Linked DNA regions of Homo sapiens: all the other regions are linked to region 6. The links are contacts of gene promoters, found by promoter capture Hi-C in blood cells and fetal thymus (Javierre and others, 2016). All regions are on one chromosome and are shown on one strand. The core of a region is centred on a gene start or on the middle of the fragment in contact, and the rest is flanking DNA. Distances in the headings are between cores, read along the strand shown. Region 1 overlaps MAP3K19 (mitogen-activated protein kinase kinase kinase 19). Region 2 overlaps CCNT2 (cyclin T2). Region 3 overlaps ACMSD (aminocarboxymuconate semialdehyde decarboxylase). Region 4 overlaps MAP3K19 (mitogen-activated protein kinase kinase kinase 19). Region 5 overlaps CCNT2 (cyclin T2). Region 6 holds the start of UBXN4 (UBX domain protein 4). Region 7 overlaps MAP3K19 (mitogen-activated protein kinase kinase kinase 19).

The links. Contacts are between HindIII fragments. The CHiCAGO score rates a contact against its expected background, and 5 or more counts as called.
Region 1: a contact is called between a fragment that was not itself captured here and the fragment with the promoter of UBXN4 in region 6, in 14 of 17 cell types (total CD4 T cells, M2 macrophages, fetal thymus and 11 more). The highest score is 11.7, in total CD4 T cells.
Region 2: a fragment that was not itself captured here is called in contact with the fragment with the promoter of UBXN4 in region 6 in 11 of 17 cell types (non-activated CD4 T cells, naive CD8 T cells, activated CD4 T cells and 8 more); the score reaches 10.2 in non-activated CD4 T cells.
Region 3: a fragment that was not itself captured here is called in contact with the fragment with the promoter of UBXN4 in region 6 in 1 of 17 cell types (non-activated CD4 T cells); the score reaches 5.9 in non-activated CD4 T cells.
Region 4: a contact is called between a fragment that was not itself captured here and the fragment with the promoter of UBXN4 in region 6, in 5 of 17 cell types (naive B cells, naive CD4 T cells, M2 macrophages and 2 more). The highest score is 7.2, in naive B cells.
Region 5: a contact is called between a fragment that was not itself captured here and the fragment with the promoter of UBXN4 in region 6, in 11 of 17 cell types (total B cells, total CD4 T cells, erythroblasts and 8 more). The highest score is 12.3, in total B cells.
Region 7: a fragment that was not itself captured here is called in contact with the fragment with the promoter of UBXN4 in region 6 in 9 of 17 cell types (megakaryocytes, erythroblasts, non-activated CD4 T cells and 6 more); the score reaches 11.3 in megakaryocytes.

What each region holds. Positions count from the first base shown.
Region 1 is chr2:135,006,102-135,009,274 of GRCh38, reverse strand. The region is part of intron 5 of MAP3K19 (mitogen-activated protein kinase kinase kinase 19); the gene reads left to right. Among named protein-coding and RNA genes, the nearest start is that of MAP3K19, 40 kb to the left of the region's middle. The HindIII fragment of the contact is 7,045 bases long and covers 1-3,173 here.
Region 2 is chr2:134,929,343-134,932,675 of GRCh38, reverse strand. The region is part of intron 2 of CCNT2 (cyclin T2); the gene reads right to left. Among named protein-coding and RNA genes, the nearest start is that of CCNT2, 12 kb to the right of the region's middle. The HindIII fragment of the contact is 7,188 bases long and covers 1-3,333 here.
Region 3 is chr2:134,895,595-134,898,876 of GRCh38, reverse strand. ACMSD (aminocarboxymuconate semialdehyde decarboxylase) reads right to left here. Exons shown (of 10, transcript NM_138326.3): 9 at 438-536. The region is part of intron 1 of CCNT2-AS1 (CCNT2 antisense RNA 1); the gene reads left to right. Among named protein-coding and RNA genes, the nearest start is that of CCNT2-AS1, 21 kb to the left of the region's middle. The HindIII fragment of the contact is 5,396 bases long and covers 1-3,282 here.
Region 4 is chr2:135,024,375-135,027,678 of GRCh38, reverse strand. MAP3K19 (mitogen-activated protein kinase kinase kinase 19) reads left to right here. Exons shown (of 13, transcript NM_025052.5): 4 at 2,938-3,053. The coding sequence starts at 3,032. Among named protein-coding and RNA genes, the nearest start is that of MAP3K19, 21 kb to the left of the region's middle. The HindIII fragment of the contact is 3,280 bases long and covers 232-3,304 here.
Region 5 is chr2:134,947,649-134,950,889 of GRCh38, reverse strand. CCNT2 (cyclin T2) reads right to left here. Exons shown (of 9, transcript NM_058241.3): 7 at 2,991-3,154. Among named protein-coding and RNA genes, the nearest start is that of CCNT2, 30 kb to the right of the region's middle. The HindIII fragment of the contact is 2,583 bases long and covers 1-2,565 here.
Region 6 is chr2:135,740,240-135,743,383 of GRCh38, reverse strand. It overlaps UBXN4 (UBX domain protein 4), which reads right to left and starts at 1,529. Exons shown (of 13, transcript NM_014607.4): 1 at 1,373-1,529. The coding sequence starts at 1,454. It overlaps LOC107985946 (a long non-coding RNA gene), which reads left to right and starts at 740. Exons shown (of 1, transcript NR_163478.1): 1 at 740-2,555. RefSeq lists a silencer at 942-991 and enhancers at 288-1,063, 1,392-1,451, 1,782-1,911. The HindIII fragment of the contact is 10,462 bases long and covers 1-3,144 here.
Region 7 is chr2:134,988,152-134,991,419 of GRCh38, reverse strand. MAP3K19 (mitogen-activated protein kinase kinase kinase 19) reads left to right here. Exons shown (of 13, transcript NM_025052.5): 10 at 3,167-3,268. Among named protein-coding and RNA genes, the nearest start is that of MAP3K19, 58 kb to the left of the region's middle. The HindIII fragment of the contact is 3,833 bases long and covers 43-3,268 here.

The sequences.
Region 1 (3,173 bases), core at 465-2,964, 730 kb after region 6:
ATGAAAAGTCGGCCAGACGTGGTGGCAGGTGCCTGTAATCCCAGCTCTTTGGGAGGCAGAGGGAGGTGGATTACTTGAGATCAGGAGATCGAGACCAGCCTGGTAAACATATTGAAACGCCATCTCTACTAAAAATACAAAAAAAAAAAAAAAAAATTAGCCAGGCATGGTGGTGGGCACCTGTAACCCCAGCTACTTGGGAGGCTAAGGCAGGAGAATCGCTTGAACCTGGAAGGTGGAGTTTGCAGTGAGCCGAGATTGCACCACAGCACTCCAGCCTGGGCAACAGAGCAAGACTCTGTCTCAAAAAATAAAAAATAAAATGAAAAGGGGCAGGGCATGGTGGTACATACTTATAGTTCCAGCTACTCAGGAGGCTGAGGTGGGAGGATCACCTGAGCCCAGGAGTTCAAGGCTGCAGTGAGCCATGATAGTGCCACTGCATTCCAGCCTGTGTGCCAGAGTGAGACACTGCCTCAAAATAATAACAATAATCATATAAACACCTGTGAAAAGAAGGGAAAACAATAATAATTAATTAATTAATTAAATGAAAAGGAATGATGATAAGGGAGAAGATATGATATAGCACATTCATGCACTGCTGGTGGATTATAAATAGGGATAAACTTTACTTTTAAGGCAATGTGTGTACAAAAAAACAACTTTTTCATAGTATTTGGGTCAATAATTCCATATCTAGGGATCTACTCTAAAGAAATAATGCAAAATTGGGGTATTAGTTGCAAATATTTAATAATACTATGTGTAAGAGTGAAGAATTTTAAATTACCTACTAAGCATCATGGGAGTTACATTGTAAGACTAACGGGGCTTATTAAAGAAGTACTATTGGCTGAGCGTGGTGGCTCACGCCTGTAATCCCAGCACTTTGGGAGGCCGAGGCAGGCAGATCACGAGGTCAGAAGTTTGAGACCAGCCTGGCCAGCATGGTGAAACCTCGTCTCTACTAAAAATACAAAAATAAGGCGGGCATGGTGGCGGGTGCCTGTAGTCTCAGCTACTCGAGAGGTTGAGACAGGAGAATCTCTTGAACCCGGGAGGTGGAGGTTGCAGTGAGCTGAGGTCGCACCACTGCACTCCAGCCTGGGCGACAGAGCAAGACTCCATCTCAAAAAAAAAAAAGAAGTACTGTTATGACCCTCTGATATTTGTTGAAGGAAAGAAATTTTAAATTCCATTAAAATTAAAATGACACTTACTTAGTAAATTGCTTATGAATTTACACTTAAGTGAAAAAGCCAGATACAAAAATTATGTGATGCAACTATATTTTTAAATACTTAAGAGAAACACAAAGAAAATATGATTCCTGTGTTAACAGTGTTTGCTCTTTGGTTGTCAGGTTATAGGTGATTTTTTAAATTTTGCTTTAAAAAATACTTTTTTGTATTTTTGTATGTTCTAGGAAGAATAAATCCCCCTTTGTGATTTGATAGGAAGGAGGAGGAATTTGCCAGATAATGGTAGAATTTTTGAAATACAGAGAAGGTTAAGCAGTGAAATTGACAACAGCCTAGGAGCTGAGTGAACCCATCCGCCATTGACAACCAGGATAGTCTGAGGTAGGGCACCCAACTTTTGCCAGGAGATAGAAAACGCTTTAGAAAGTATTAATAAGGGTAGTGGGGAGTAGGGAGGAAGGGGGATGGTTAATGGGTACAAAAAAAAATAGCTAGAAAGAATGAATAATCAACCCAATGAGAGAACAAAAAGAAAAAAAAAGGAAAAGAAAGAGTAAGAACTAGTACTGATAGCACAACAGGGTGACTATAGTAATAATTTAATTGTACGTTTAAAAATAACTAAAAGTATAATTGAATCATTTGTAACACAAAGGATAAATGCTTGATGTGATGAATACTCCATTTACCCTGATGTCATTATTATGCATTGCATGCCTATATCAAAATATCTCCTGTATCCCATAAATATATATACCTATGTACCCATAAAAATTAAAAAACAATGTTTAAGTATAAACTGCTGAATAAAAGTAAGGTATGACAACTAAGTTATTATGATTGAATACCTAAAATATTTTTAATGACTGTATAAATGGAGGGTTTTACTTCTGGTTTTTTTTTTTGAGACAGGGTCTCACTCAGTTGCCCAGGCTGGAGTGCAGTGGTGCAATCATGGCTCACTGCAGCCTCAACCTCCTATGGCTCAAATGATCCTCGCACCTCAGCCTCCTGAGTAGTTGGGACTACAGGCACGTGCCACCATGCCTGGCTAATTTTTGTATTTTTTGTAGAGATGGGGCTTCACCATGTTGTCCAGGCTGGCCTCAAGCAATCCACCCATCTCGGCCTCCCAAAGTGCTAGGATTATAGGTGTGACTCACCATGCCTGGCCAGGTTTTACTTTTATTTCCTTTTTCTTTTCTTCTTCTTTTCTTTTTTCTCTCTCTCTCTTTCTCTCTCTCTTTTCTTTTCTTTCTTTTGACAGGGTCTCACTCTGTCACCCAGGCTGGAGTGCAGTGGCGTGACCCTAGCTCACCATAGCCTTGACCTCCCGGGTTCAAGCCATCCTCCTGCCTCAGCCTGCCAAGTAGCTGGGACAACAGGGGTGTGCCATCACGTCCAGCTAATTTTTGTATTTTCAGTAGAGACAGGGTTTTGCCATGTTGCCCAGGCTGGTCTCGAACTCCTGAGCTCAAGTGATCCACCCGCCTCAGCCTCCCAAAGTGCTGGGATTACAGGAGTGAACCACCATGCCTGGCCAACTTTTATTATTTGCTACGACAATTAAAATGAACAAGGAGAGAAAAGCAAGAAATTTCCTAGCTCTCTTGGGAATTAATAAATGAGCTATCAGAGAATTTTTGTGACTCGCCACTTCTCTGACATTTCAGATGACAGGCTTGAGCACTTAGGGCAAAGACTTATTGTCCATCAGTCCCCTTAAATAGGTAGTCCACCTAGATCATAGAAACCAGACAGATAGTTGTAACATTCGGGTTGTGATGGGATGTTTTAACTATTACTTGGATCTATCATGGTTCTAGAAATTTAAAGGCACAAAATCATCAGCTATAACTTCGAATGAAGGAAACTATCAAAAACAATGAATTCTACTAAGAAAACATTTCTTCTTTAAAATGTTTGGAGTACTTTTTGTAAATCAAGTTGGTTTTCAACTATAATGAT
Region 2 (3,333 bases), core at 645-3,144, 810 kb after region 6:
CACCAGCACTAAGGAATTGCAGAAAATGTTATTAACCCAGTGTGGCATTTTAGTTTTCTTACTCAAATAATTATGTGAGTGAAAGACTGACATGAAAGCAAATTTATATTAAAAAATTAAAAAAAATCTTCAAGCTGGATGTTAAGATACCTAATTACATTTAAAAGAAAGCTGGGTTAATAACGGCCCCAAAATATCAGTATTCAATATTGCTGAAAAGCAGTACTGATTAAGAGAATAAGGCTTGACTTCCATAGAGTAACTACATTATACTTAAACAATATACTGAAAATGGTTAACATAACCGGCATTTAAAAAATTATTTAGTGGGGAGTACCTGAGCATTATGAATGTTTCTAAAAAAGAAAAAATATCAGCCGAGCGTGGTGGCTCATGCCTGTAATCCCAGCACTTCGGGATGCCAAGACGGGCGGATCACCTGAGGTCAGGAGTTTGAGACCAACAGGTCAGGAGTTCAAGATTAACACATGGTGAAACCCCGTCTCTACTAAAATACAAAAAAATTAGCCAGGTATGGTGGCACACACCTGTAATCCTAACCACTTGGGAGGCTGAGGCAGGGGAATCGCTTGAACCTGGGAGGCGGAGGTTGCAGCGAGCACCACTGCACTCCAGGCTGGGTGACAGAGTGAGACTGTCTGAAAAAAAACAAAAAAGAAAAAATGAAAAAAACCAACTTATAAAGTATACTTAGTATTTCATAGTTAAGGCTCTATCTACTCTCTCTTATATAGACACAGCTCCTAACAGCCTACAATAAATACTAAAAAATACCACTCTAAGTCCCAGCTACCTGGGAGGCTGAGGTGGGAGGACTGCTTGAGTCCATGGGTTTGAGGCTAGCCTGAGCAACAGAGTGAGATCCCTTCTCTTAAAAAACCAAAAGGACAAAAAATGACTTGTATTGTGAAACAAGAACATTAACATTGCACAGGAATTCAAATATACTACATAAATGTTACAAAAGGCCACTTTCCTTCGAACAGATTATCACGAAGATGGCAGTACTCCCCAAATTTATCTACAGATTCAATGTCATCCCTATAAAAATCCCAGCTTCTTTTGTAGAAACTGATGAGCTTGATCCTAAAATTCACATGGAAATACAAGGGACTAAGAATAGCCAAAACAATCTTGAAAAAGCACAAAGTTGGAAGACTCATATTTCCTAAATTCAAAAGTTATTACAAAGCTACAGTAATCAAGACTATGTGGTCTGCATAAGGGGATGGAATAGAATCCAGAGTCCAGAAATAAATGCTTACATTTATGATCCATTGATTTTCACTAACAATCCCAAGAAAATTCAGTGGGAGAAAGAACTCTTTTCAGCAAATGGTGCTGGGACAACTGTATATTCAAATACCAAAAAAAAAAAAAAAAAAAAAAAAAGATCCGGGCATGGTGGCTTATGCCTGTAATCCTAGCACTTTGGGAGGCCAAGGCAGGCAAATCACGAGGTCAGGAGATCGAGACCATCCTGGCTAACACGGTGAAACCCCGTCTCTACTAAAAATACAAAAAATCAGCCGGGCGTGGCGGCAGGCACCTGTAGTCCCAGCTACTTGGGAGGCTGAGACAGGAGAATGGCGTGAACTTGGGAGGTGGAGCACGCAGTGAGCCCAGATGGCGCCACTGCACTCCAGCCTGAGGGACAGAGTGAGATGTCTCAAAAAAAAAAAAAATTCAAATCCTTATTTACATCATACATAAAAACTAACTCTAAAGGAATCACAGACCTAAATGTAAGAGCTAAATCTATAAAACTCTTGGAAGAAAAGACAAATAAATCTTTATGACTCTAGTTTAGGTAAAGGTTTCTTAGATATGCTATCAAGAACACAAGTTACAGAAGAAAAATATTAATAAACTGGATGCTTGTGCTGCAAATACCACCAAGAACATAAAAATGACAATGCATAGAATAGGGGATATCATTTCACACTGTTAGGATGGCTACGATAAAAAAAAGACGAGAAAAGTGATGATATTGCAACCCTCACACATTTTGAGAACACAAAATGGTATGGCTACTTTGGAAAACAGTTCGGCAGTTCCTCAAAATGTTTCTTAAAAGCTATCCAAAAAGATTATTGGAGTCTAAAGTTACCATACCAATCCAGCAATTCCACTCTCATGTAACTCTCACCCGTAAGAAATGAAAACATATGTTCACATAAAAACTTGTACATGAATGTTCATAGCAGCATTATTCATAATAGCCAGTGGAATGGCTGTTAAGTGTAATCAACCCAAATGTCCATCAGCTGATAAATGGATAAATAAAAAGAGGTACAGCCACATGACGAATAGAATATTAATTACTCTGCAGTAAAAAGGAATGAAGTACTAACACATTCTACACCATGAACGGACCTTGAAAACATGCTTCGTGAAAGACCATATATACATGATTCCATTTATATGAAATGTCCAGAATGGGCAAATCTATGGAGACAGAAAATAATTTAGGGGTTGCCCAGGGTTGGGAAGGGGAGTGGGACTGGTGAACTGCTGCTTACAGCAACCAGGTTTCTTTTTGGGGTGATAAAAATATTCTAAACTGAGATTGTGGTGATAGTTGTACAACTTCGTGTGAGCCACTGAATTATGCATTCTAAATAGGTGGATTTTACGGTATATGAATTGTATCTCTCTCTCTCTCTTTTTTTTTTAAGGAGCTAACGTTAAAGACATCTATTTAGGCCAGGCGGGGTGGCTCATGCCTGTAATCCCAGCACTTTGGGAGGCCAAGCCAGGCGGATCACTTGAAGTCAGGAGTTCGAGACCAGGCTGGCCAACATGGTAAAACCCTGCCATTACTAAAAATACAAAAATTAGCCAGGCATGGTGGTGCATGCCTGTAATCCCAGCTACTCAGGGAGGGTGAGGCAGGAGAATCACTTGAACCCAGGAGGTGGAGGCTGGAGCGAGCTGAGATTGCACCACTGCACTCCAGCCTGGGTAACACAGCAAGATTCCGTCTCAAAAAAAAAAAAAAGGCATCTATTTATTAGTTCTCTCTCTCTCTCTCTCTCTCTGTTTTTGAGACAGGGTCTTGCTCTGTCACCTAGGCTGGAGTGCAGTGGCGTGAACGTGGCTCACTGCAGCCTCAACCTCCTGGGCTCAAGCGATTTTCCTGCCTCAGCCTCCCAAGTAGCTGGGACTACAGGCGCACACCAAGATGCCGGGCTAATTTTTTTTTAAATTAATTTTTGTAGAGACAGGGTCTCGCCAAGTTGCCCAGGCTGGTCTTGAAGTCCTGGTTTCAATCCTCCCACCTCTGTCTCCCAAAGTGCTGGGATTACAGGT
Region 3 (3,282 bases), core at 47-2,546, 840 kb after region 6:
AAAAAAAATAAAGTCTAGTTACTTAAAGGATCTGATTCCTTGGATCCTTTTAATCAAGACTTTAGTTTCATCATCTAAATAACTAGAGTTATTACAACTTTTGAGATTGGTAGATTTGTAACAGAAGTAATATAGAAAAAATTTAGACATTTTTCCTATGATCTATCTAACATGCAGGCATATTTTATTGTCATATCCTTCTATACAACTTTCTTTCTTGGGTTTATGAATTTAGTTGTACTAGGCTGACTTTCAGCTTTGTCATTTTTTTTGTCCTTTAATAGTTTAGCTATTTATGGAGATAGAGTAATAGTTTTAGGGAATTCAGTGTAATGGTTCCTCTGTTCTTTGTTTTTATATATCAAAGTGCTCTGAAACCAAACCCAATTAGAGCAGGAAAAGTCAGTAAGAAAGCCGTGAAGTAAAAGACATTATACCTTTGTTTCTTCATCAAATTCTTCCATGGACTCTATTAGTTTCCCAGGTTCCAGCTCACCTAGTGGAAAGGGGTAATCGGTTCCCAAAATGACTTTATCCTAAAAAACAAAATATATATTTCTCTGTTGTTTTGTAAAACATGAAAGAGCCTCCTGTAAACAATTGTTTACTTATTACAAACATTCCTGTCATAAAAATAACACATTTTTTCCTGATTAATAGAAACATAAAACTTGTCTAAAATTTTAAAAAGATTTAATGGTTCAAATTTTATTCTGACTTTTTTTTTCCAGCAGGTGTCACTATTAGGTCTCTTTGTTGCAAATCAACCCCATTCTCTCTCTTTTTAAATAACTGAAATATAGAATACTGAAATATAAGAAATTGATATTTATTTACTAAAATATATATATTCAGATGAAATTAAGGGATTCTGTCTTTCTTAGAATGATACATTGCAATTGATTCCACAGTTTTTCAAAACATACTATTAACAGAGTAGGAAAGGAAACATAAAAAACAAATAACTCGATAAAAAGTAAAAAAAAAAAAACAAAAACAAAAACAAAAAATAGAAAAAGAAAATCCCCTATCTCTGGATCAGTTCCTATAAACAATTCCTATAAACTGGATCATAAGTTTTTGAACAGTATAGCTTTGAATTTCCATTTGACACTTTATACAATAAAATACGTAGGCTTGTCAATCTACAAATATATTAAGCACTGTGTCAGACAATGTGCTAGAATTTAGATGTACCCTTGTCAACAAAACAGACATGGTTCCTTTTCTGAAGGAACTCATAATCAAGTGAGAAAGATATTATGTCAATAATGGCAATTTATCAAAGTAAAATAAAATAAAAATTCAAACCAGAAATTTTACTTCTCAAAATGTATTCCACTCATACACTTGTGCTGGAAAGATATACAAAGAAATAAATTGCAACATTATTTGGAACAGCAAAAGACTGGCCAATTAAATTACAGAATATCTCCAAATAGAAAAGAATAAAGAATACTTACATATGCTGAAATGGAATAATCTCCAAGTTACAGTGTAAAGAAGAATGATCTTGAAGTTATAAAGAGAAATAAAGAGTCTAGAACAATGTGTCTGCTATGCTTTGATTTCTGTTTTCAATAAGGTACCTATAGACCCACAAATATATGTTTGTATATATACAGTCTATTTCAGGAATGGTATCTAAGAAACAAATAACATTAATTTCCTCCATGGAGTAGGACTAGGGCTTGGGGGTCAGAATATCCCCTTTTCTTTTTTTTTTGAGATATAATTCACATACCATAAAATTCACCCCCTTTAAAGTGTATAATTCAATGGGTTTTAGTATATTCATAAGTTTGTGTAATCATTTCCACTAATTATAGAATGTTTAAAAAAATTTTTTTCATCTTATATAACCACAGATTTTTGTCACCTCCAAAATAAACCCTGTACCCATTAGCAGTGACTCCCCATTCTTTTCTCCCTCCAGCCCTTGGAAAACACTAGTTTACCCTCTGTGTCTCCAGAATTGCCTGGTTGGTACATTTCACATAAATGGAATCACATAATATGTAGCCTTCTTTCATTTAGTTTAATGTTTTCAAGGTTCACCCATGTTATTGCTTGAATCAATACGTACCTAAGAGTGGAAGTGCTGGCGCATATGGTGAGTCCATGTTTAACATTTTGAGAAACTATTTTCTACCATGGCTGCAGCTTTCTACATTCCCACCAGCATGTATGAGGGTTCCAGTTTCTCCAGATCCTCGCCAACATTGGTTATTCATCTTTTTGATTATGGCCATCTCAGTAGGTATGAGGTGGTATCTCACTGTAGTTTTTATTTGTATTTCTCTAATAAGTAATTATGTTGAACATCTTTTCATGTGCTTATTGGCTATTTGTATCTCTTCCTTGGAGAAATGTCTACTAAGATCCCTTGTGTACATTCATGTCCATTTTGTTATCTTTTTATCATTGAGCTATAAGAGATCTTTGTGTGTTCTGAATACTAGAGCCTTATAGATACATGATTTGCAAATATTTTCTCCATTCGGTGAGTTGTCTTTTTTACTTCCTTGGTATTGTCTTTTGAAGCACAAAAGTTTTAAATTTTGATGAAGTCTTCTTCATCTATTATTTTCTTTGGATGCTTGTACTTTTGGTGCCATAGCAAAGAAACTATTGCCTAACCCAAAGTCACAAAGATTTACACCTATGGTTTCTTCTAAGAGTTTGTGGTTTTAGTTCTTCAATTTAAGTCTTTGATCCATTTTGAGTTAATTTGCATGGTGTAAAGAAGGAGTCCAACTTTATTTATTTTTTTTACATGTGGATATCTACTCTTATCTCACTATCATATGTTGAAAAGACTATTCTTTATCACACTGAATTGTATTGGCACCCTTGTTGAAAGTCAGTTGATCTTTATGTCTGTCTTTAGGCTAGTCCCATAGAGTCTTGATTACTGTAGTTGTGTAGAAAGTTTTGAAGTTGGGAATGTGACTGTGCCAATTTTGTTTTTTCTAGATTGTTTGGCTATTCTGGATCCCTTGCATTTTCTTTTTTGAGACGGAGTTTCACTCTTGTCACCCAGGCTGAAGTGTAATGGTGCGATCCTGGCTAACTGCAACCTCTGCCTCCCGGATTCAGGCAATTCTCCTGCCTCAGCCTCCCAAGTAGCTGAAATTACAGGCACACGCCATCACACCCAGCTAATTTTTGTATTTTTAGTAGAGACAGGGTTTTGCCATGTTGGCCAGGCTGGTCTCAAACTCCTGATCTCAGGTGATCCACCCACCTTGGCCTCCCAAAGTGCTGGGATTACAGGTGTGA
Region 4 (3,304 bases), core at 622-3,121, 720 kb after region 6:
TTCCTGGATATAAATTTCCCAAACCAACATGGCTTGACCCCTCTGATGCTGGCTGTGAGAGATGTGGACCTGTTTGAGAGTCTTGACATGTTAACAGTGTACAAACCTGTGGAAGTTCTGTCCCAGCTCCTAAGGCATCATGCGTGAATATGAGCAGTTAGTCAGCCCAGCTGAAGGGTGTCAATTCAATTGTTATTTACAGAAATCACATGTAAACCGAGACACAAAGCTTCTTTTTTACCCTTTCCCTCCCTCCCTCCCATCCTTTTCTTTCTTTCTTTTCTTTCTTTCTTTTTTCTTTCTTTCTCTCTCTCTTTCTTTCTTTCTCTCTTTCTTTCTTTCTTTCTTTATTTCTCTGTCTCTTTCTTTTCCCTCTCCTTCCTTCCTTCCTTCCTTTCTCTCTCTCTCTCTTTCTTTCTTCCTTTCCTCTTTTTTATACAGGATCTTGCTCTGTTGCCTAGGCTGGAGTGCAGTGATGCAATCATAGCTCACTGTGACCTCAAACTCCTGGGCTCCATGGATCCTCCTGCCTCAGCCTCTCGAGTAGCTGGAACTACAGGCACATACCACTATGCCCGGCTAATTTTTAATTTTTTGTGGAGATGGAGTCCCACTATATTGCCCATGCTGGTCTCAAACCCCTGCCCTCAAGCTGCTCTCCCATCTTGGCCTCCCAAGCTGTGGAGATTACAGGCTGTTTTCTACTATATATGCCAAATGCACATGCATCATCATAAAAGTGACTTCACAATTGCAAAGTGATGTGCAGTTTCTAAAATTTGCTACCTATTATTCTTATGATATCTGGCTCTTTGTTTCATTTCTTGAAATGATTACTGTTCTGGTAGTTACTGGGAATGTCAAATAATTCTTGAGTATCCAGCTCTCTACCCCCAAGATATTACTAATTATTTCAGAAAACACTGTCAATGTCTGAAAAGCAATTTATAATAGTGTTTTCAAGTTATCTTAAAATTACTATATGTCAAATGCTCTTTTAGGAGGGAGGAGATAAACAATGCACTTTTTTTTTAAATAAGAGGGTTAATAAGCAATCTCTTATGTTACAATTGCAGTTTCCTAAAGCTGTTACTTAGTTATCTTGTCATCAAATAAGAACAGATGGCCTGAGCTCTTTCTCAGTACTTCATATGAATTTTGTTTTGAAAAAAAAAGGAGGAGGGAGCTTCAAGAACAAAATTATAGTCAAGAATACAAGATATTGTAAAAGGATCAGTTAGTATAATGGAATGAAAAGGGAATTTTGAAGCTACTTCAGCCTAGTGTTGAGAAATAGTTTGGCCAATTGATAAAAGTGGAGATTCCTGGACGTCATCCCAGAGATGTTCAGTAGGTCTGGATTGGGGTCCAGAATACTGGAAATCAAGGTATGCCACTTGGAGACACCCTAATCTAGGCAGATGAGGAGAGGCCCCAATGAGTTTATCTTTACTTGTTTTTATGCACCCTTAAATAATTATAAAAATTTTTGTCCAAAGTTGGGAATTCTCTGCAAATATGATAAGTGGCTTGCTTAAAGCCATATATCAAGGTAGTGGCAACCCCAATTCTCAGTCCTATGCTATTTCTTTTGAATTACAATCTTTGATGAAGAAAAGTCCATAAGAGAATATTACTGTGGCTCATGACACATTACCCTGTCCCATAGCAACGAAGAGATTCAAATTCAAATGTTTTAGGACAGAGACCATGATCAACTTGCTCCTTGTCCTAGAATAGGATAAGTAAAGCAAGTTTCATCATTGTTTCCCTCACTGTAATCTATTAATGGGATTCTCATCATTTAACTTTGGATTTCTCTGAGCTGATATCTAATGCAAGGGTTCAGTACAACATAGGATAAGAAGAGACTTGTGCTGTCATAATAGAGAGGATAAGAAGAGACTTGTTCTGTTGTAAATGGTCCTAAGATCAGCCAGTTGGGCTTACCAACCACAAAGCCAGGTAAAGAGGAATGAAAAGGCCATGTGGGGGCTGGGCGCGGTGGCTCACGCCTGTAATCCCAGCACTTTGGGAGGCCGAGGCAGGCAGATCACGAGGTCAGGAGTTCGAGACCATCCTGGCTAACACGGTGAAACCCCGTCTCTACTAAAAATACAAAAAAATTAGCCGGGCATGGTGGCGGGCCCCTGTAGTCCCAGCTACTCTGGAGGCTGAGGCAGGAGAATGGCGTGAACCCGGGAGGCAGAGCTTGCAGTGAGCCGAGATCGCGCCACTGCACTCCAGCCTGGGTGACAGAGCAAGACTCCGCCTCAAAAAAAAAAAAAAAAAAAAAAAAAAGAAAAGAAAAGGCCATGTGGAGAGGCACACTTTGGTTTTTATGACAAGATTGCTCCACTCATCCAAGAGACCATGAAATAAAAGTATCAGCTTAATTTTAAAGAGAAGATTCTATGCCATTCCACCATTTTGAATCATAAAAGAGCTAGCTGTTAGCATTAGAAAAAAGAAATATCAAAAAAGTCAGCAGTTAGCTTAATTATTGAAAAGAAAAAAATCAAGTGAGCTATTTGGAATGATAAGACAATCATTTATCAAAATGTTTTAATCCTTATGACTCATTGAAAAAAATTTAAAAATATAAAAAAAAACAACAAAAGATGTTTTTATCTTTACTTGATTTTATGTACCCTTAAAGAATTATAAAAATTTTTGTCCAAAGTTGGGAATTCTCTGCAAACCTCAGAATGTTTTTAGAATGGGGATGGGAATAAAGATACACAGCAAATTCCTTTTATTTAAAATCTTGTAAAATTGTCATCCTCTATTCACACATTTTGAAATCATTATTATTATCCCCAAACTACATAAGATTACTTTTTATTTATTTGATGTAAATGTTTCCCTCTCATATTAGTTTTCTTTTTTCAACAGATTCAACTAAATAAACTTTAATGTTGATTCTGTTCTTCCTAGAGATCCTAAACTTTGTGATTTTAGTGGAAAATCAGCAATACATTATGTGTCACAAATAGAGAGTTCAAAGAAACAGCAGCTTTTGGACATTTTAATGAGTTCTATGCCAAAACCAGGTAAATACTTTCACTCCACATGCATAATTTCCCAACCCAAAAATTCCTGTTAGATCTCTTTCTTTTTCTACATCTGTTTGATGGATCCATTTAAAGAAATCAAGTCCACGGCTATTTATGGAGCAGTGACTCTGTACAAGGCCCACGACTAGGTGCTCTGGGGGATGCAAAGAAGTCTAACGCAAGGTTTAAACTTTTGAAAATATACAGCATGGTCAGGGGCACATCACATAAGTCAGAGAGAGCTTGCT
Region 5 (3,241 bases), core at 25-2,524, 790 kb after region 6:
CTACTGTATTAAATTTTATAGCAGAACAACAAAAGAATCTGTTAAATAATCCATTAACATAATTAATTAGCTATATGCACAAAAATCACAGTATGTGCCTAAAATAGAGGCCCTTCTCTCTCAAAGCTACTGTCTAAGCCAATGTTCTTTTCTGGAACACAATCATTAAGTGAATTATTTCAGTAAGTAATAAGAATAGTAGTATCACTTCACTCTACAATTCAGATAAATCTTCATGTCTTTTTTTTTCCCCCCAGACAGGGTTTCCTCTGTTGCCCAGGCTGGAGAGCAGTAGCATTATCACAGCTCACTACAACCTTGACGTCTCAGGCTCAGGTGATCCTCCCACCTTAGCCTCCACAGTAGTTGGGTCTATAGGAGTGCGCCACCATGCCCGGTTTGTGTGTATTTTTAGTAGAAACGTGGTTTTGCCATGTTGCTCAGGCTGGGCTCAAACTCCTGTGCTCAAGATATGTGAGTGACTGCACCCGGCCACACCTTCATGTCTTTAATTTTGAATTGCCTTTTTGTGACTGACACAGAAAAAAAAGCTGCTGCAAAACATGGTGAAAGTCTTAACATATCAGTTCTCCAAGATTCCTATTCAATTGCTCTCCAAATTAACAAACTTTACTTTTCAGAATGGAAATGAGGTAGCTCCTCCTGTGTCAAAAAACCCCACATAAACCACAACCTAACCTCTGACCTAAAGACAGGATAAAAGGCAGATTACTTTTCTGTGATCTTTTTACTTCAGCACCAGGTATATAAACTATTTTTATTACGATTATGCCTACTGGCTGGGTGTGGTGGTTCACGCCTGTAATCCTAACACTTTGAGGCCAAGGTGGGTGGATCATGAGGTCAGGAGTTCAAGACCAGCCTGGCCAACATGGTGAAAACCCTATCTCTACTAAAAATACAAAAATTAGCCAGGCGTGGTGGCAGGCACCTGTAATCCCAGCTACTCAGGAGGCTGAGGCAGAGAACTGCTTGAACCCGGGAGGCGGAGGGTGCAGCGAGCCGAGATTGCGCCACCGCACTCTATAGCCTGGGCGACTGAGACTCTGTCCCCCACCCCCCCCCCGAAAAAAAAATTTTGCCTACCTAATCTTAATCTAGTGACTATTAAACTAAAACAATGACCTAGATAACCTGATTTTTCAAGCTATAGAACAGATAAGCCCTCACTGAGTTTTAGATGTCATTTCAACTCATTGAAGACTTCCTTTCCTCTGGATAAACTCTGAAAAAGCCTCTAACAATTTAAGAAAAACATTATAATCATGCAGCAATAATACAGCATGAGATATATATTCTGGGATAATTTTTTCCAGGTGGAAAACAAAATAGAAAAGGATGAAACAAAGAAGCATATTTCACAAATAAGAACAGGCAAACTATGGATAATTGGCCAAATATGGCTGGCCACCTATTTTTGTCAACAAAAGTTTTACTGGAACACAGTCACACCCAATCAGTTACAAATTGCCTATGGCTGCTTTCTGGCTGCAATGGTATAGTTGTATAGTTGCAACAGAGACCTTATAGTTCACAAACTCTAAAATAGTGTTACTCTTTGCAGACCCCTATCTTAAAGAAACATCAGGTGGGGCACAGAGGCTCAAACCTGTAATCCCAGCCCTTTGGGAGGCTAAGACAGGTGGACTGCAAAACCCCATCTCTACTAAAAATACAAAACTTAGCTGGGCGTGGTGGCATGCGCCTATGGTCCCAGCTCCTCAGGAGGCTGAGGCAGGAGAATCGCTTGAACCTGGGAGGCAGAGGTTGCAGTGAGCCCAGGTTGCACCACTGCGCTCCAGCTTGGGGGGCAGAGTGAGTATCTGTCTCAAAAAACAAAACAACACAAAACAAGGCCAGGCACAGTGGCTCAAGCCTGTAATCCCAGCACTTTGGGAGGACAAGGTGGGCAGATCATCTGAGGTGAGGAGTTTGAGACCAGCCTGGCCAACATGGTGAAACCCCATCTCTACTAAAAACACAAAAACTAGTTGGGTGTGGTGGCTCGTGCCTGCAGTCCCAGCGACTTGGGAGGCTGAGGCAGGAGAATTGCTTGAACTCGGGAGGTGGAGGTTGCGGTGAGCCAAGATTGCACCACTGCACTCCAGCCTTGGCGACAGAGTGAGACTGACTCAAAAAAAAAAAAAAGTGTTATCTATTTTCTTGCTGAAATCTACAGTACGTGGTTAAAATGCCCTAATCCCAAGAATCTCCCATTTCTGGCCGGCTTCTTTTACTTCTCAACCAGAGGAATTTCTCATCAAAACATCCCCAAAATTCCACGTTCCTAATTAACAGAACACACACCCACAATTTCTCCTTGTGTATTCATATTTAACAATGTAAGGCAACAATGGTAATACAGAGCAAGAAACACAATCCCCTGAAAATCCCTTTCGTTTACTGCTTCACAGTTAACACTCAACTTTCAGTATACACATTTAAAACTCAACAGAATTAGTATACTTTAAATCACTATTCTTATCTTGTCAGCTTATGGAATTCTAAACCTTACTTATTTATTTTTTAAGTCCTGAAAAAGCTTTAGATATTTGGTGGTAGTTAATATATACCCAGGCTGGAGTAGAGCAGTGCCTTCAAGGCTTACCGCAGCCCTGACTTCCCGTGCTCAAGTGATCATCCCGCCTCAGCCTCCCAAGTAGCTGAGACTATAGGCACGCACCACCACACCCAGTCAATTTTTAACTTTTTTTTTGTAGAGACAGGGTCTATGTTGCCCAGCCTGGTCTTGAACTCCTGGGCTCAAGTGATCCTCCTGCCTCAGCCTCCTACAGTGCTGGGATTACAGGTATGAGCACAGCTTCCAGACTCTATTTTTTTTTCTTTAGGCTGATGAATTGTTGTTTTCATTCTGTTCATCTGATAGTGTACTGACACTTTCTATTGTCAATTCAGACAACTGCCAACTTAGATAATTCCAAACTTAAAAATTTATTTTCTCTACTTACCATCTAATAATTCTAGAGTAACTGTAGGATCCACATATTCCCACCAATGCTTTCCATCAGTTGATACAGGGATCTCCCAATTGGACCATTTGCAAGCCAAATGAATGCATACACATGCTATCACTGTTGGTTTGTACTGAAGACAGAAGGTTGTAAGATGCAGACTGTTGCAGAGCAGGTTTGAAAATGGAGAGCCATAAAAATTCAAGTATGTAAAACAAAGAAAAACATTTACCAGTAAGATTAGAGCA
Region 6 (3,144 bases), core at 280-2,779:
GTCATTTACTTTTCCTTTCATTTTCAATCCATTTTTTTCCTTACGGGATTACAGAATTAATTTATGTAAAGTATAATATAACCCCCAGACAGCATCACAGAATCTAAACTATTCAAGCTCTTCTAATAAACAGCATTGAGCTAAAAACTTGGCGTAACAAAACAATTATAAATTCCAAATTTAATGCTAAATGACATTCACATTTCAGTAATTCGTTCTTCACTGCAGTGCATAAAGTTATAGAGCTATTAAAAGACGAGTTAATTATGAATAAACCGTTATTAAACACAAATAGTTGAAGAAATACACCTCAAATTAACAACAGCCACAAACATTGATTTGGTCCATGTAATGAGTATGAGCAGAACCGTAGAGGCAGGGAGTTCACTGTAAATCTACAAGATTTCAGTAATAAAACAGGAGAATATGGAGCAAAATAGCCTAGAGCAACAGAGAATATATGAGTTAATAAACGTTCTCAAAGTCGTGTAGATTTTAGCCTAAGAAGACAACAAAGGGAAGAAACCAAGGACTGAACGTCTATTTTCTTTGAAACTAATGGATTTTTTTTAAACTTACATTATTTCACACTAGATCCCCTACCAAGACTGCCATAAAGAAAAATTAAACCTCTATTCAGCTCAAAAGTTTACGTTTCAGGAACGTACTAACACCAGTAACCGTGAACATCAGGTGGTTTCTCTTTGTTGCTTATCGATGACACAGCTTTCTTCCCGACAGTCCACAACTAATTACAACCCAACTGCTTGCCTAATGGCCCGTTCCTACCTCCATCTAAACAGCAGTAACGAAACGGGCGTTCAAGCAGCACAAAGAGGGTCCTTGGTGACAGAGAGGGACGTCAGGGAGAGGGTCGCGGGGGTCTGGCTGCGCAGGGGAGAGGCTCGGGGCGACGAGCGGGGCTGGGCGGCTGGGGCCTGCTGGCCGCGTCCGTCGCCCCGAGCGGGGAGATTTCGGCGGGCCTCGGGGCGCTTTGGAGACCAGGGCCAGACGGTGCCTCCGGCCCGGCTGCCGGGAGACGCAGCGGTGGGGCCAGGCCCACTGTATCTCAAACGAACCGGGGAGGCGCTGAACAGCCACGGGCCGGCAGCCCGGGCCTCGCAGACACTGAGGAAAGGCTGGGGGCGCCCGGGGCCTGAAGGAGCAGGGCGCTGAGGGTCTGCATGGCCCCTCTGGGGGATCTGGCGGCGGAGTCGCAGCCGTCCCTGGGGCGCGGGGTAGTAGTGGCAATTGTGCGAGCCGACAGGAGCCCGCGTCTCGGGGAGGGCGGGCCGGCGGCTGAGGTATACAAGAGGATGAAGGTAGGCCGGAGGGGTGTCCCGGCCGCCTCTCGAACCCCTGCCTCCTTCACCTGCCACGAACACCACGAAGACCGCGCCGCTCCTTTTGGCCGTCGCGATGGCGGCCGGAATGGCGCCCTGGAACCACAGCATCGCTCCCTTCGGGCCCAGGCGCTCGCTCGGTGTGTAGTCTCCGCAGTCCCGAAGCCGGCTCCGCCCTCCGTCTTCGTCCGGCTCTGCGGCCCCCGCAACCTTGGCTGGTTCGGCCCCCACCTCCGGCTCCGCACAAGCGCGCACGCCCGTCAGCGGCACCCGGAGACGCGCGCTAGCGCGCGCGAGAACACCTCACGTCACAGTCGCAACCCGTCGGTGTCCGTGCCCCAGGACCTTCTCTCGTTGGCGAGTCGATGGTGCGGGCGCGCGCCCGCTAGGCCTCCGGTCGCGCAGTCCAGGAAGTGGAGGAAAGCGGTAAGAGGGATGACTAACCGCTAAGACACGTCGGCGGCGCCTGCAGTGAGGCATGATGGGAATTGTAGTCCACTTAGGCTTATTCGCCTCCATATTGTGGAGCATGTAACTGTGGGTTCTGAGGCACAGCTAAAGGGGGCAGTAGTGAGGGCCACTACACATTCTATAAAGGGGAGAGGGAGAAATAAGTGTCACTCCAACTGGCATATGCTATTCTCGGCCTCGTTGAGACTCTCAGTGTGGAGGAAATAGTCCTCGCATGGAACTAAATGGGCTTTGTCGGGATTAACTCCGAGGCTTTGATTTCTTCTGAACGTAGCCCAACCTTGCAGAAAAACGGGATAAAAACCGCAAGTCACCTTCTTTAATAACCTGTAGTCCATGTGCCTAAGCGGAGGAATTGGTAGAACGCAGGCCTTCAGCAATTTCCTAGACACTGGATAGAGATCATTTCAAAACTTCAAAACGCGTTAGGCTATTGCCACAGCTACTTTTTAAAGTAACACAAAGCAGAGAATAGATTATTTCTTTTCCAGCTACTTTCCATGGTAATACAAAAGAGACTAGATAGTGATTTATTTTCCAATTTTCTGGGAGAATGTCCTATAATCAAGATGTGGCGCTTTGTGATTGGCTGCCATTAAATGAAAACTGATCCATATTTAATACTTTCATGAAATCACATGGTCTGTAATAACTATTAGCTAAAGGCTTGCATGGTTTATTTAAAGTTGCATATACTATTATGTTAAATTCTACATCAATTAAATTTATCCTCCAGCAGTACATCTATCTGACAATCTTTGCAAGATAAAGGAAGTGATACATCTGAATATACCACCTTTCCTACAGATATTTTCCCTAAAAATAGCTAATTATTTGCACTCCGATTTTTGTACTTTTTTTCCCAATCAGGCCTCTCGTATATAGTGTTATTATAAACTGAGACATAATGCTGATTAGGGACAGTTGCTTCTATAGGACAACAATCCTACAGAAAAATTAGAATTGACCTTTAACATCAACTTTAATGGACTTCTGGAAATTTGATCAATCTAGAAATTATTCCAATAGAGCTATGTCTTTAATTATCTCTAATTTTAGAATTAAATAAGAATCCTTCATAGTTTTATATTCATTTGTCAAGTGTTTATCACTCATCTTTTATGAGCTAGGCATTGTGCCTGGCACTGATAAGGAGGTGAGGCAGTCAGAAGAAGGCCCTGTCTTTGTGACTGTACAGTCTAGTCAGGAAGACAGACATTGAATAAGTAATTATGAGTGATGATAAATGTCACAGAAGGGTAATTCAGAGTGCTACAGAAGTGTATGAGGATGGGACCGAACATGGGCTAGTGGAGTCAGAAAGGGCCTT
Region 7 (3,268 bases), core at 710-3,209, 750 kb after region 6:
TCACTGATGTCCCCAACACAGTCAAAAATCCACACATAAGCTTTGATTCCCCCAAAACTTAGCTACTAATAGCCTACCGGTTGTTTTGTTTTGTTTTGTTTTGTTTTGTTTTGTTTTTTGAGACAGAGTCTCACTCTGTCACCCAGGCTAGAGTGCAGTGGTGCAATCTCGGCTCACTGCAAGCTCCGCCTCCCGGGTTCACGCCATTCTCCTGCCTCAGCCTCCCGAGTAGCTGGGACTACACGCACCCGCCACCACGCCCGGCTAATTTTTTGTATTTTTAGTAGAGACGGGGTTTCTCCATGTTAGCCAGGATGGTCTCGATCTCCTGACCTCGTGATCCGCCCGCCTCGGCCTCCCAAAGTGCTGGGTGTTCTGTTTTGTTTTGTTTAGAGACAGGGTCTCGCTATGTTGGCCACGTTGGTCTTGAACTCCTGGCCTCAAGCAATACTCCCCCTTAGCCTCCCAAAGTGCTAGGGTTACAGATGTTAGCCACCGCACATGGCTGCAGTAGCCTACTGTTGACCAGAGCCTTATAGATAACATAAACAGTTGATTAACACACACATTTTGTGTTATATGTATTATATGCTGTATTCTTACAATAAAGCCAAGAAAATAAAATGTTATTAAGAAAATCATAAGGGGCCAGGTGTGGTGGCTCACGCCTTAATCCCAGCACTTTGGGAGGCCAAGGCGGGTGGTTCACGAGGATAAGAGATCGAAACCATCCTGGCCAACATGGTGAAACTCCGTCTCTACTAAAATACAAAACATTAGCTGGGCATGGTGGCGGGTGCCTGTAGTCCCAGCTACTCGGGAGGCTGAGGCAGGAGAATTGCTTGAACCTGGAAGGTGGAGGTTGCAGTGACCCGACATCATGCCACCGGACTCCAGCCTGGCAACAGAGCAAGACTCCGTCTCAAAAATAAAACAAACAAACAAACAAAAAAAAAAAACAAAAAAAGAAAATCATAAGGAAGAGAAAATATATTTACTCTTCATTAAGTGGAAGTGGATCACCATAAAGGTCTTCATCCTCACTGTCTTCATGTTGAATAGGCTGAGGACGAGGAGGAACAGGAGGGCTTGGTCGTGCTGTCACAGAGGTAGCAGAGGAGGAAGAAAATCCACATATAGGTGGACTTGCGTAGTTTGAAGCCCTGTTGTTCAAGGGTCAACTGTATTTCTTGGAAAAACAACAACTCACATATAGTTCCTAGAGTAGCAAATCGTTCCTGGGAAAATTATGCCTTGCCATGTGCAGTGCTTTTCTGGAGTGTTTCTGTTCTTTACATAATGAGCTGAGTAGCTCCCTTAGACATTTTTTTTTTTTTGAGACAGAGTCTCACTCTGTTGCCCAGGCTGGAGTGCAGTTGGCACAATCTCGGCTCACTGCAACCACCACCTCCTGGGTTCAAGCGTTTCTCCTGCCTCAGCCTCCTGAGTAGCTGGGATTACAGGCACCTGCCACCACACCCAGCTAATTTTTGTATTTTTAGTAGAGATGGGGTTTCACCATGTTGGTCAGGTGGGTCTTGAACTCCTGACCTTGAGTGATCCGATTGCCTCGGCCTCCCAAAGTGCTGGGATTACAGGTGTGAGCCACCACACCTGGCCAGACATATTTTAATTTGTCTTTTTTCAACCTATTTAGAAATTAGGCAATTCTTTTCTTTCCCCCAGTGGTGGAAAGATTTTCCTAGCTGTCTAATTTATAAGTTTTTGGAAAGATATTTGCAATTCTTAGTTTCTCAACTACCTGACCCTTCTTTTCCTATGAGCCTTTGAGAAATACTTATGCATAGGTACTGCTTAGCATTGTAAAAGGAGTTTATTGACCTAAAAAATTGTAATGGCTGTTACTAGGCAGATGGTTAAGCACTGGATGAATCTGCCTTTATGTCCTAAGTCATTTTTGAGAAATGAGGAAAATCATCTAGACAGTAAAACTGGGGTCTACACTACATCTCATCTACTTTTAATGCCTAAGTTTCTAGAGTCAGGTTCCATTTCCTTCCTTCTTACACACAGGTGGCAATAGAATGAAAATTAAACATACATTTCTCAATTACTACCCATGACCCATGCCTATAAATATTGTGATATAAATAGGTATTGAATCTGTATACACAGGAAAAGACCACAATGAAAAGAAGCATAAAGTTAAGGAGTTTATAGCTTACTGCCCGCAAAGTTTAATATTATACATTGGGTTACACTGACCTCTACAGGATGATAATAAAAACTAGCTTAGTTTGAAACTAGAGGAGGGCAAAGGAGAAAGGAAAAACTAGCTTAGTTTGAAACTAGAGGGCAAAGGAGAAAGGAAAGCCATCCATTTGCCTGTCATCCACAAAAATGAAATTTTGTACATTTCATTCACAAACTAATTCAGCAAAACGATGGTGAGTAGTTGTGTTTCGGATATGAATTCTGAGTTAGTCAATAACTGGTAATTTTTGAGGTATTTTAACAGCAATTTTAAACTGTTTTCAGTGGGATTTCAAAAATCTTAAATCAATTCTATGGAAAGTAAAAAGAAAAAAGAAGAGAAATAAAATGCTTCTTATCTTAAATTTTTACCATTTACATTATAGGGCCTTCATTTAAAAATATATAACCATGAATATTTACATCTATAATAATCCTGGTTTTAAAACGTGTTGTTTTAAATTGGTTCTAAAAAAAATATTGGGAATGAGGTTTTAATTTTAAAAATTGTGATCTTTCCAGGCATAGTGGCTCATGCCTGTAATTCCAGCATTTTGGGAGGCAGAAGTGGGAGGATTGCTTGAGGCCAGGAGTTTGAGACCAGCCTGGGCAACATAGAGAGACCTTGTCTCTACTAAAATTTAAACATTAGCCGAGCATAGTGGCACATGCCTGCAGTCCCAGCTACTTGGGAGGCTGAGGTGGGAGGATCGCTTGAGCCCAGGAAGTCAAGGCTGCAATGAGCTGTGATTATGCCACTGCACCCCAGCCTGGGTGACAGAGCGAGATCTTGTCTCAAGAAGAAAAAAAAGAATTGTGATTTCCAGGATAGCTTTGAACTTTAAAAGCCTTCCTTAAGAGGATATTATAATCTCTTTAGACTACTTTAAACGAGTTAGCGTGATATTTATATATGTTTCTGCATTCACAGCTTTTTCTGTCTTCCTTTTAGTTCCTTCTGCCACCACTGTCACTCTTGCCCACGCGATCTGGTGTCCTTACTATCCCCCAAAATCACAAGTTTCCAAAAGAAAAAGAAAGAAACATTCCAAGT